Regions from separate parts of the Homo sapiens genome. Here region 2 is linked to region 1. Evidence: promoter capture Hi-C in 16 types of primary human blood cells and fetal thymus (Javierre and others, 2016). All regions are on one chromosome and are shown on one strand. Each heading gives the region's core, a stretch centred on a gene start or on the middle of the fragment in contact. The rest is flanking DNA. Distances are from core to core; before and after follow the strand shown. Region 1 holds the start of KRT32 (keratin 32). Region 2 overlaps KRT40 (keratin 40).

Region 1 (6,459 bases), core at 89-2,588:
TATGAGGACAGGTCCTCCCCAGCTCCAGCCCCCCGACTGAACTCACTTGGCCCTGAAGTCATCGGCAGCCAGTTTGGCATTATCAATGTTCACAACCATCCTGGCATTCTCTGCCTTGGTACACAGAATCTGTAGGCCAAGGCACATGGAGAGGGTTAGTTCAGGATGAGACGAAGCAAGAAGAACCCAAATGAAGAGAAGACAGCAGCAAAGGTAGGATCCAGCAGCCCTGCAGCCATCCCTGCAGAAGGTCCTCTTCCCTGGAACTCTGGGAGATATTTAGCGAATTGCTAGTCCTTGGAGAACTTGAGATGTATTTTTTAAGAACCTGAAGCTTCGTAAATTCAAATTCCCCATTTTGGATGTGCCAAGCAATGTGGAAGGGAAGAATCTCATGTCTGAAGTCACTCATGTGACAGTTAGAAGGGTCTTTGACATTTACTGAAAACTTACCGTGGACCAGGGGCTGTTCCAAGCACTTGACCTGCATCATCTCATCAAATCCTTTTGACAACCCCATTAGATAACGACCATTATTATCCCTGTTTTACAGATGAGAAAACTGAGGCCTGGGGAAGGGATGGGACCCCCAAAGTCATGCAATGAGGCAATGGTAGAACTGAGACTAGATCCCAGATCTCTCCACATGAAAGCCTCAGGCTGAGTGCTCAAATTATAAAATAACCCTATGCCCTAGGGAAGTCTCTTTGTCCTGAACATAGCTTAATAAGCTAACGAGATTCCAATCTGGAATGCCAGCTAGTCCAGTTCCCTTCCCAGAGAGCCTATTCACCTCACCGCTGCCCTCACCTTCTGCTGGAGCTCCTCAATGGTCCTGAAATGAGACTGGTAGTCAGGAGTCATGGTGAGCACCTGGGAGTGAGAGGCCTCTTGGATCCTGCTCTCCAGCTCCGCATTCTCCTGCTCCAGCTGCCGCACCCTCGTCAGGTAGCTGGCCAGGCGGTCGTTAAGGAACTGCATGGTTTCCTTCTCATTGCCATTGAAGGCCCCTTCGCTGTACCAGCTGCCGGGGCCCATGGAGCCGGAGATGCCACTGGCTGCCTGGCAGGAACTGGATAGATAGGTTTTGGAGAGGCAGCTGGCTGGCCGGAAGGTGGTGGGCAGGCAGACCGAAGGCAGGCATGCCATGGGCTGGCAGACATAGCCCAGGCACAGCTCAGGCCGGCAGTTCACGCCGCTGGAACAGACCGAGGCAGGCCGGGGGCAGCTCTTGAGAGAGGCTTGCAAGTTGTTGGTGACACAGCAGGAGGATGTCATGTTGGAGAGGCCCTTTCTCCTCAGCCACAGCTACCTGGATGTCTACAGACCCCATGCCGCCCGGGCCATTTTATGCCCTTGCAGTGAGGGGGCTCATGATAGAAATTCATCATTGGGTGGTGTTGATGTTCACACCCAGCCCCAGAGGAAGCTGCTAATTAATTTGTAATTTGGTTTCCAATAAAAGAGGCCAAACTTATCATTTGGCTAAAGCAGGAGTCTGGGTTCCTGTCATTGATCACCATGAGAGAGCTTCAGGACACATCTTCAAAGGGTCAGCCGCATGCCTGGGCCCTCATTACTAGGGCAGGCCCTCCAGGAGACTGCCACAACCCAGCCTGTGCCTCCACTGGCTTTGCCCACTGCACCCCCGCCTGCTCTAGCCCTGAGAAGCCTGCAGGTCTGTGCAGCAGTGGCTGCCTCTTTTAATGAAAGCATTCCCCATGGGAAGAGGCCTGGCTATTTAACAAGGAAATGTGTGGGTGGTAGAAACTGCTCCGATGCTGGCAGCGGCATAAATCCAGCAGAAAGGAACAGGAACCTCAGAGGCTTCCTAACAGACATCATCTTCCTGCCAAGGGGAAGAAAATAATATCAGTGGGGAGAGAATGAACTCAAGACATAGGCAGCATCACTTCTCAGCCTTTTGGCTAAGATCAAGTGTGGTATCTGTTCTTATCGTCTTAATATCTGATACGTCCTCCATCTGAGGACAACATATTAAATGGATTTTGGGAGCAGGGAGATGGAATAAGAGCTTGCTCTGTTCACTCTACATGTTGACCTGGTATTGCAGTACCTCCAGGAATGCTGCACCCCTTCAAAAGGCAAAAAAAAAAAAAAAAAAAAGACCCAAACAGAAGCCTAAGAATCAGGTACATCTTTCCAGTTGGTCTCTTCCTCTTGGAAAAGTCCATATCATGAACATCTCCAGGTGGCAGCTGCTCTGTCTTGACCCCCTCTGGACCATCCATTCAATTATCACTGCACCATATACACAATTGTCAAGTGCTCAATAATTGTTTGTTGAACAGACTGAGAATAGTTGGAACAGGTTCTACTTTTACTTTCTGTTGTGGCAGATGGGGAAGGCTCACTTCAGGATCTCAGACTATGGAAGCAGTGTGAATCCACTCCCTTGGGAAAGGATGTTCTATAGCCCTGGAATGAGCTAAGCCAGGAGACAGGGAGCATATTTGCCCAACTATAGAAGCCCTGGGCATTCACTTAAGAAGGCAACATGCTAGAGCAGTGGTTTTCAGTCCTGGCTGCAAAAGCTGTGAGCTTCACATTTAGTATGTGTGTGCTATATAGCCACTTTTTTATTCAGTAATCTTCTTGATATAATTTTGGGGTATAAGTACTTGCCTTATGTTTCACATATTCCCAGAAATGTCAGTACAAGAACAGGAAAGGGAAAATGCCACCCAGCTCATTCATTGCATAAGAAAAGGAGAGCGTAGATATACTGCCTCTGACTTGCCATTTGGCCTTGGGAAAGTAATTTTGTCTCTCCAGACCTCAGTTTCTTCATGCCAATCGAGGGGGTCAGATCAAATACTCTCACAATTTGATTCTCTGCAACAACTACAAATTCCAGTACCTTGTCTGGATTACCTATTTAGAGAAGATTATAGCATCAGATGGAAGGAGGTGTGATGGCAATACCAACTACAAGGGATGAGACTCATCAGGCCACCCTTCAGAATCATAGCCAGCACTTGTGGAATGTATACAAATACCAGGCATGGTGCTGAGTGCTTGGCATTAATTTGCCCATTTAATCCTCTCACCCAAAAACTATAATTATTATAATAAGGTGTTATCAGTCACTCTCAGCATCAACCTGACTCAGGAACATGTTAGAAATGTGAGTTTTCACCCTAGAAGAAAGTCTAGGCAATACCATTCAGGACATAGGCATGGGCAAAGACTTCATGACTAAAACAGCAAAAGCAATTGCAACAAAAGCCAAAGTTGACAAATGGGATCTAATTCAACTAAAGAGCTTCTGCACAGCAAAAGAAACTGTTATCAGAGTCAGCAGGCAACCTATAGAATTGGAGAAAATTTTTGCAATCTACCCATCTGACAAAGGTCTAATATCCAGAATCTACAAGGAGCTTAAACAAATTTACAAGAAAATAACAAACAACCCCATCAAAAAGTGGGCAAAGGATATGAACAGGCACTTCTCAAAAGAAGACATTTATGTGGCCAAGAAACATATGAAAAAAAGCTCATCATCACTGGTCATTAGAGAAATGCAAATCAAAACCACAATGAGATACCATCTCATGCCAGTTAGAATGGTGATCATTAACAAGTCTGGTAACAACAGATGCTGGCAAGGCTGTGGAGAAATGGGAAAGCTTTTACACTGTTGGTGGGAGTGTAAATTAGTTCAACCATTGTGGAAGACAGCATGGTGATTCCTCAATGATCTAAAACCAGAAATACCATTTGACCCAGCAATCCCATTACTGGGTATATACCCAAAGGATTATAAATCTTTCTACTATAAAGACACATGCACAAGTATGTTTATTGCAGCACTATTTACAATAGCAAAGACTTGGAACCAACCCAAATGCCCATCAATGACAGACTGGATAAAGAAAATGTGGCACATATATACCATGAAATACTATGCAGCCATAAAAAAGAATGAGTTCGTGTCTTTTGCAGGGACATGGATGAAGCTGGAAACCATCATTCTTAGCAAACCAACACAGGAACAGAAAACCGAACACCACATGTTCTCACTCATAAGTGGGAGTTGAACAATGAGAACACATGGACACAGGGAGGGGAACATCACACACCAGGGCCTGTCGGGGGATGGGGGGCAAGGGGAGAGAGAGCATTAGAACAAATACCTAATGCATGCGGGGCTTAAAACCTAGATGATGGGTTGATAGGTGCAGCAAACCACCATGGCACATGTATACCTATGCAACAAACCTGCACATTCTGCAAATGCATCCCAGAACTTAAAGTAAAATTTTTAAAAAAAAGAGTGTGATGTTCCCCTTCCTGTGTCCATGTGTTCTCATTTGTTGTGGGGTGGGGGGACGGGGGAGAGATAGCATTGGGAGATATACCTAATGCTAGATGACGAGTTAGTGGGTGCAGCACACCAGCATGGCACATGTATACATATGTAACTAACCTGCACATTGTGCACATGTACCCTAAAACTTAAAGTATAATAACAATAAAGAAAGAAAGAAGGCATAGATGTTGCAGTTTTTAAATATTTGCTATTTAATGTTGTTTTATTTAAACAATGTAGATACACTGCTTTGATAAAAATAAAAATAAAATGTAAAAAAAAAAGAAATGCAGTTTTTCAGGCTCATCCCAGACTGGCTGAATCAGAAACTCTGAGGCTGGGGCTGGGATGCAGCAGCCTGTGTTTAGCATGTCCTTCAGGTGGTTTGGAGACCCACTGAGATAGAGGAAGATACAGGCATACCTCAGAGATAGTGCATGTTCAGTTCTAGACCACCACAATAAAGCAAATGTAACCATAAAGTGAGTCACACAAACTTTTTGGTTTTTCTGTGTATGTAAACATTATATTTACACTATACTATAGTCTATTAAGTGTACCATAGCATTATGGCCTAAAAACAATGTATATAACTTAATTTTAAAAATGCTTTATTGCTAAAAATGCTAAGGATCATCTGAGCCTTCAGCAAGTTATAATCTTTTTGCTGGTGGAAGGTCTTGCCTCAATGTTGATGGCTGAGGACTGATCAGGGTGATGATTGCTGCAAGTTAGTGTGGCTGTGGCAATTTCTGAAAATGAGACATCAGTGAAGTTTGCCGCATCAGTTGACTCTTCCTTTCATGAAAGATTTCCCTGTAGCATGTGATGCTGTTTGATAGCATTTTAACAGTAGAAATTCTTTCAAAACTAGGGTCAGTCCTCTCAAACCCTGCCACTGCCTTATTAACTAAATTGATGTAGTATTCCAAATCCTTTGTTGCCATTTCAGTGATGTTCACAGCATCTTCACCAGGAGTAGTTTCCATCTCAAGAAACCACTTTCTTTGTTCATGAATAAGAAGCAGTTCCTCATCCGTTCGTTTTGCCATAACATGGCAACAATTCAGTCACATCTTCAGGCTCCAATTCTAATTTTAATTCTCTTGCTGTTTCCAACACATCTATAGTTACTTCCTCTGCTGAAGTCTTAAGCCCCTCAACATCATACATGAGAGTTGGAATCAACTTCTTCCAAACTCCTGTTAATGTTGATATTTTGACCTCCTCTCTTGAATCACAAATATTGACATATAGAATAGTGAATCCTCTTCAGAAGGTTTTCAATTTACTTTGCCCAGATCCATCAGAGGAATCACTCTGTATGGCAGCTATAGCCTTATGAAATATATTTCTTAGGTAATAAGACTTGAAAGTCAAAATTAGTTTTTGATCCATGGGCTGTGGAATGGATGTTGTGTTGGCAAACACAAAAACATTAATCTCCTTGGACAGCTCCATCAGGGCTCTTGGGTGATCAGATGCATTGTCAATGAGCAGAAATATTTTGAAAGAAACCTTTTATTCTAAGCAGTAGGTCTCAACAGTGGGCTTAAAATATTCAGTAAACCATGTTATAAACAGATGCACTGTCGTCCAGGCTTTGTCGTTCCGTTTGTAGTGCACAGGCAGAAAAGATTTAGCATCATTCTTAAGTGCCCTAGGATATTCAGAATGGTAAATGAGCATTGACTTCCCACTTGAAGTCATCAGCTGCATTAGCTCCTAGCAAGAGAGTCAGCCCATCCTTTGAAGGTTTTGAAGGCAGACTCCTCCTGTCTAGCTATGAAAGATGCCGCCTCCCTAAACTTCATCATTTCTAGCTTTTTATTTAAAGGGAGAAACCTGCAACTTTTCCTTTCACTTGAACTCTTAGAAGCCACGGTAGGGTTATTAATTGGCCTAATTTCAATATTGCTGTGTCTCAGAAAATAGGTAGACCCAAAATAGGGAGAGAGATGGGGGAATGGCCAGTTGGTGGAGCCATCAGAACGCACGCAACGTTTATCAGTTAGGTTCCCCATCTTATCTGGGCATGGTTTGGTGCATCCCAGAACAATTACAACAGTAATATCAAAGATTACTGACCACAGATCACCATAACACATACAATAATGAAAAAGTTT
Region 2 (6,459 bases), core at 3,564-6,063, 490 kb before region 1:
TATCTTGTTATTGCTCCCATGCAGCTTCCACTGACACTGCATGGGGGTGGCCTTGGTACTGCTGGAGGAGGGAAAGAGTTCTGACTGTCCAGTAGGACTCTTGTGACACTAACCCCAGAGGAGAAAAGAAGAGCCTCACTGCAGCCTGTAGAGTTAAGTCCAGGCTTCCCGTGTGGTCTCCACTGATACCATGATGGTGGGACAGGGAGTGCTTCCATGTCTCATAGTAGGAATGAAAGTCCTGGATCTCTCACTTAGCCTTCCCTGATTCCACCCCAGTGGTGAAGTTTGAGTGCCTTATTACAGCCTGGGAAGGATAGAAGTCTGGACTCCCCACCTGGCCTTTCCTTGTGTGGATATGGGTGGGTGAAATGATATTTTCTGTGGTGTTTGGCTGAGTTGAGTGGTTATTGTCTAAAGGTTTTCCGCCTTTCTAGGCTGCCTCTTTTCTGGTTCTTTAAGCAGAGCAAGCTCTTTCTGTTTGTTTGTTTGTTTGTTTTGTCTGCACCTGTTGGTGTTTCTGGTTGTTGGTTTCTCCAGCTCCCCCTCTGGGATATATGAGATAAAAAGCTAATCCAGGGAGCTCACCACAGTGTCACTCCTGGAGTCTCAACATCTTTAGGTGGTTTGGCTTCTTCTTCTACCTTTCAGAGTCCTCTTATGTTTATTTGATATGTAATTTCCAGGGTTTTTAGGAGGAGGAATATGGAAATATACATCATTCTGGAAGTTCTCTACCTTGTTTTTTAAATATATGAGAATAATTATTCTTATAACCTAAATGTCCAATAACAGATCAATGTACCTTATGGTACATTATGCAACCAGTAAAATGATGGCTACAGGCTGGGTGCAGTGGCTCACACCTGTAATCCCAGCACTTTGGGAGGCTGAAGCTGGTGGATCACAAGGTCAAGAGATTGAGACCATCCTGGCTAACACGGTGAAACCCTGTCTCTACTAAAAAAAAAAAAAAATTAGCCTGGTGTGGTGGCAGACACCTGTAGTCCCAGCTACTTGGGAGGCTGAGGCAGGAGAATCGCTTGAACCCAGGAGGCAGAGGTTGCAGTGAGCCCAGATAGTGTGACTACACTCCAGCCTGGGTGACACAGCAAGACTCTGTCTCAAAAAAAAAATAAAAAATAAAAAAAGTGATGGCTACAATACAATCTTATGTTTTTATTAGAATTAAAAATGCTTAGATGACATAAATGAAAGAAAGTTTACACAAGTGTGTGCATATGTTAGTATGATTATAGCTGTGTGGAAAAATCTATTATAAGAAAGAAAACTGGAAGAAAGTACCCCAAAATATTGACTATGGCTGTTTGGAAGATGAAATCATAAGTGACCTTTTCCCTTTTAATGAGCCAAATTTAAAAAAAGAGAATCTAGTACTTTTATAATCAAAAAATACATTTTATCATATTTTATTCCTAATATTTTTCCTCAGAAAGATACACACAACTATTTTCTAAGATATATGACATTTCTCATGGGTTCATTAATTTATTTGTATTTGAGGAGTTAAAAAATATTTTCAGCCTGGGTTTATGTACATTGAAACTATGGTTATGGGTTTAGATGATTTCCTTGCCATAAAATGAATATTCTATCAACAGTAATCAGCCATAGAGCTATATTTACCACGCTAAAGGAATAAAACACGTTTTATTTGGAGATGAGCAAGAATGCTTTATGGGCTTCCAGTATACCACAAATAAGCCGGAAGGAGAGGAAATAGTAAAGCAGAAAGACTGAGGATACCTGGAGGGCAATTCCAGGATATGAGAGCCTCCTGGATTTGTGCTTCCGGTTTGGATGTCCCTGGTTGAAGCCCCATCTCCTTTCTAGGATGCTGCTGGCTTTGATTCCTCTACCTGCTGTCCTTAACATTCACAAGCAGCAGTTTTCAACAGTGCAGATGACATAGGCTGAGCATGGCTCACAAGTGTTGCTCGAGGTGCATGTGGTCGAACATGGGCTACAGGAAAGCCTGGGGAAAAATCGATTTTCAACCAAGATTAACAAGGGAATGTTGATAAAATGGCAACTCAGAAAAACCGTGTCAAAATTTGCCCTACAAATTATGTTCTGAAAAAAACTCTGCACAATAGCATTGACTGAAGCCTGTTTCTTCTCTGCACCCAGAATTGCCACTTCATGTTCACTGTAGCAGTGGCAGTTGAATAGTATTTTATATTTTTTCTTGATTTTGCAAATGTTATCTTAGGCCTATTCCTGATTTTCCTTTAGTGGAAAACAGGAACAAAGGGAGATGCCAGCATGAAATGTTACACTAATAATTAATCTGCCTTTAGAATATTTTAAAAATATCTCTAGTGTCATGTTCTTAACCTCAGCCACTTTTCAGCACTTTTTTAAGAAGATCCCTAAACACACTGGGGAGGTCTGAACTTGTCCAGACTTTGGGGAAACAGGATTCTTTTACATCAGCCTCTTTGTGACTCTGGGGGATTTCATGAGTAACTGTGGAACTTGCCTGCTGTCCTCGCTGTCCAGCAGGCCCCAGTACGTGTTGATCTCACCCTCCAGCCGGGCCTTCACGTCCAGGAGCACCTGGTACTCCTGGTTCTGTCGCTCCAGGTCGCAGCGGATCTCGGCCAGCTGGTTCTCCAGGTTATCGATCAGACACTGAATTTGGGCCAGCTGGGAGCTGTACTGGGCCTCGGTTTCTGCCACGGTGCATTCCAGAGATTCTGTCTGCGGGAGGAAACATTGTCCAAAGGACCATGAAGTGCAGTCTCTCGGGCCAGAGTGCCTACTTTCAAATTCCTGCTTACCCTTTTCTAGCTATGTGACCACTGGCAAATTATTTAGCTTCTGTGAGTCTCAGTTTTATTCTCTGTATAGTGGAGAATACAAAGTATCTGTTTCATTAGACGGTTGTGAAGATTAAGAGTTAATATGCGGGCTGGGCGCGGTGGCTCAGGCCTGTAATCCCAGCACTTTGGGAGGCCGAGGCGGGCGGATCACAAGGTCAGAAGATCGAGACCATCCTGGCTAACACGGTGAAACCCCGTCTCTACTAAAAATATAAAAAATTAGCTGGGTACGGTGGTGGACGCCTGTAGTCCCAGCTACTCAGGAGAATGGTGTGAACCCGGGAGGCAAAGCTTGCAGTAAGTCAAGATCATGCCATTGCACTCCAGCCTGGGCGACAGAGGGAGACTCCGTCCAAAAAAAAAAAAAAAGAGTTAATGTGCGTAAAGCATTTAGAACAGTGCCAGCCATACTGCCACTGTTCTACGTGTCAACTATCACTACCACCACTATGACTACAGCAATACATGACATATTTGTGAAGCTTAAGGACTATCCACAACATATGAGAGGAAAGATTGAGTTTGGGCTCTTGGCAGGGAGGGGTAGTATAGTGCTATTAAGAGAAGAGGCTCTGGATACCAGAGGCTGGGACTGGCATATGTGTGGTAAGGGGATGAAGAGAGGTTGGTTAATGGGTGCAAACATACAGTTAGACAGAAAGAATATGTTTTCATGTTGGACAGCAGAGAAGTGTGACTACAGTTAACAACAATACACTGTGCATTTCAAAATAGCTAGATGGGAGGACTTGAAATGCTCCCAACACATAGAAATGATAAATACTTGAGGTGATGGATGCTCTAAATATCCTGACTTGATCATTACACATTCTATGCATGTAACAAAATATCACATCTACGTAAAAAAAATTTACGCATATTATATATCAATAAAAATAAATTTAAAAAGAGAGAGAGAAGAGACTCTGGGATTCAACTGGCTGAACTCAGCTTCCAAGTTTGCCTCTTAGAATTGCATCCTTTGCAAGTTACTTAATCTGAGTCTCAGTTTTCCTTATCTGTGTCATGGGATAAAGGTATCTATCCGGTAAAGTTACTGTGAGCCTTAAATCAGCATAGTGCCTCTCACAGGATGAATGCTCAGCTATTGTTCTTCTAGGTGTTCTCCGCAGGGCCTAATGACATGCACACAGTGGTGCTTGACCAGAACTGGTTCATGTCATCTTGAACGCATGGTGTTCCTGTTGCTTGAGTGGGGGGTGGTGCAGTGAAGGATAAGGTTGAAGTGTAGATCCTGGGAAACTGTAGGATGAAATGTTTGAAAATGATTCTTTGTTTTAGATATAACAGTGAGCCTGGAAAACTGGCCTGAATCAAATGAGAATTAAAACCTGCCAGAATGCTTAAGCGACCATGGCCCGGAGGTTTCTCTCCAGCTCTGCTTCTCCCTCCCTGTCTCTGGAGGCTGCTGCAGCATCAGACTCAAGCCCAGGAGTGAAGGTAAGGCATCTTAGAGGACAAGCTGTGGACCTGTCACTTCTGCTTCTATTAATAGCTGGGTAAACGGCAGTACTCGGGAAAGGCAAGGAAATGTGATCCTCGGATATGGAAGAGGGCTTAACATCTCAGGGCCTGACTTATCAGTGACACAACGGACACTGCCTTTGCCTCACGCACCAGGCTTTGCTGTGCTTGGAGCTCAATTTCCAGAGCACTGGCTGTGCGTTTCAGTTCCAAGATCTCCATCTGGCAGCCCTGCAGCTGCTCCGCGCTGGACAGTTGCTGCTGATTCAGCTCTTCTGTCTGAAACACAGACACCATTAGAGAATTCAAAAAAGGCAGAAGTCTGTAAGCCTGACATTTTTTCAATCTGGGTACTGACCTGAACAGCCAACCATTCTTCAGCTTCTCTGCGATTGTTGGCAAGCACCGTTTCACACTGACAGCGCATCTCATCCAGGACCCTGTTGAGGTCAAGGGTGGGGGCAGTGTCCAGCTCCACACTGAGGCGGTCGCCAAGCTGTTCACGAAGCAAGTTGACTTCCTGAAAGTGGGATGGTGTAAAGAATGTCACAGAATGGTGGGGAAAAATCCATTTGACATCCAATGGCATTCTACTTCTGTTTTTTGGAGCAGTGGGTAAAAGTGTGAGATTTTGATTCAGATTGCCTGGGCTGAATCTCTTTTCACCACTTAGAAGGGCCTCAGTTTCTTCGTCTGTAAAATGGACATAATAATTGGACATTTTTCCAGAAAGTTATTGTGAGATCTAGAAGAGTCAATCTACACATAATTAACTTATAAAAGTTAATTATGACACATAGTAAGGTGTCAATAAATGTTAGCTATGATTGTCATCAACAAACGTTCAAAGAGCAAATGTACTTTGTTACATCATTCAGCTTTTCATTTTCTAGCTTTATCAATATATCAGTGGCTGTATATTTTATGATTTTTAGAAGTTTATAAATGCGGAATATTTAAAAACACTGGTCCAGATAGTGCACAGTCTTTATCCCTTTTTTGAAATGGACTTCACAGTCTGTTCCTCAGCCTGATTTTCATACCCTGTGGACTGGAGCTAGGGGTGGCATAAAGCCTCCAAAGGAAGCCATTTGTGAAGTTACCTCCTCCACAAAGGCAAGGGCAGGAGAAGAGTTTGATTCCTTCCTCTGGCGCTGTCTAGGGGTTATTTCACACCTTAAATCAGAGACACACTGGAATGATCAGGTTGAATAGTAATAATGCCTCGAGTAGTTTTTGTTTGTTTGTTTGTTTGTTTGTTTTTTGAGATGGAGTCTCGCCCTGTCACCCAGGCTGGAGTGCAGTGGTAAGATCTCGGCTCACTGCAACCTCCGCCTCCTGAGTTCAAGTGATTCTCCTGCCTCAGCCTCCCGAGTAGCTAGGACTACAGGCGCCTGCCACCATGCCCAGCTAATTTTTGTATTTTTAGTAGAGATGAGGTTTCATCATATTGGTCAGGCTGGTCTCGAACTCCTGACCTTGTGATCCTCCTGCCTCAGCCTCCCAAAGTGCTTGGATTACAGGTGTGAGCCACCATGCCTGGCCCTGCCTCAAGTAGTTTTATTCCAGCTTAAACAACATCTGCCCAAATTCGATTTACAAACATCAACAGATCATCTGTCAATGTAAGTACGTTACTCTCGGAGTCCTTCAGCGGAGTTGCCACTTTCCTTACCTCTTCATGGTTTTTCTTAAGGCAAAGGAGATCTTCCTTCAGAGACTCCACATGGGCCTCCAGATCAGATTTGCACAGGGTCAGTTCCTCCAGGATCCCATGCAGGCTGCTGATGTCAGCCTCTAACAGCTGGCGAAGGGACAGTTCACTCTCGTACCTTTCACAGCAAAAGAGAAATCCAACGCTTACTTTGCTGAACGCTGTGCAAAGTGTGGGGATACATGGAGGATCGACACACGGACTTCAGGAAGCCATGTGCATAATTTCTCTTAATTCCTAAGTAATGATAAATTCAAGCTTTTAAAACATTCTTAACTTTAAAATATTATATAGAGAATATTTGTGTGTGTGTGTGTGTGTGAGAGAGAGAGATTGAGAGAGAGAGAGCCATAAGTTATTTTCAAATTAAAATTAAAGCCGGGCGTGGTGGCTCATGCCTGTAATCCCAGCACT

The links. The method cuts DNA at HindIII sites, captures the fragments that hold promoters and counts their contacts. A CHiCAGO score of 5 or more calls a contact.
Region 2: a fragment that was not itself captured here is called in contact with the fragment with the promoter of KRT32 in region 1 in 4 of 17 cell types (total CD4 T cells, naive B cells, naive CD8 T cells and 1 more); the score reaches 5.7 in total CD4 T cells.

Annotation. Positions count from the first base shown.
Region 1 is chr17:41,466,048-41,472,506 of GRCh38, forward strand. KRT32 (keratin 32) reads right to left here and starts at 1,339. Exons shown (of 7, transcript NM_002278.3): 1 at 811-1,339; 2 at 47-129. The coding sequence starts at 1,278. It also overlaps the pseudogene RNU2-32P. The HindIII fragment of the contact is 3,316 bases long and covers 333-3,648 here.
Region 2 is chr17:40,976,301-40,982,759 of GRCh38, forward strand. It overlaps KRT40 (keratin 40), which reads right to left. Exons shown (of 7, transcript NM_001389244.1): 3 at 6,007-6,163; 4 at 4,690-4,851; 5 at 4,485-4,610; 6 at 2,504-2,724; 7 at 1,415-1,996. The coding sequence ends at 1,897. It overlaps LOC107985072 (a long non-coding RNA gene), which reads left to right. Exons shown (of 4, transcript XR_001752886.2): 3 at 4,149-4,307; 4 at 6,028-6,459. Among named protein-coding and RNA genes, the nearest start is that of KRT40, 4.8 kb to the right of the region's middle. RefSeq lists an enhancer at 3,706-4,307. The HindIII fragment of the contact is 2,975 bases long and covers 3,327-6,301 here.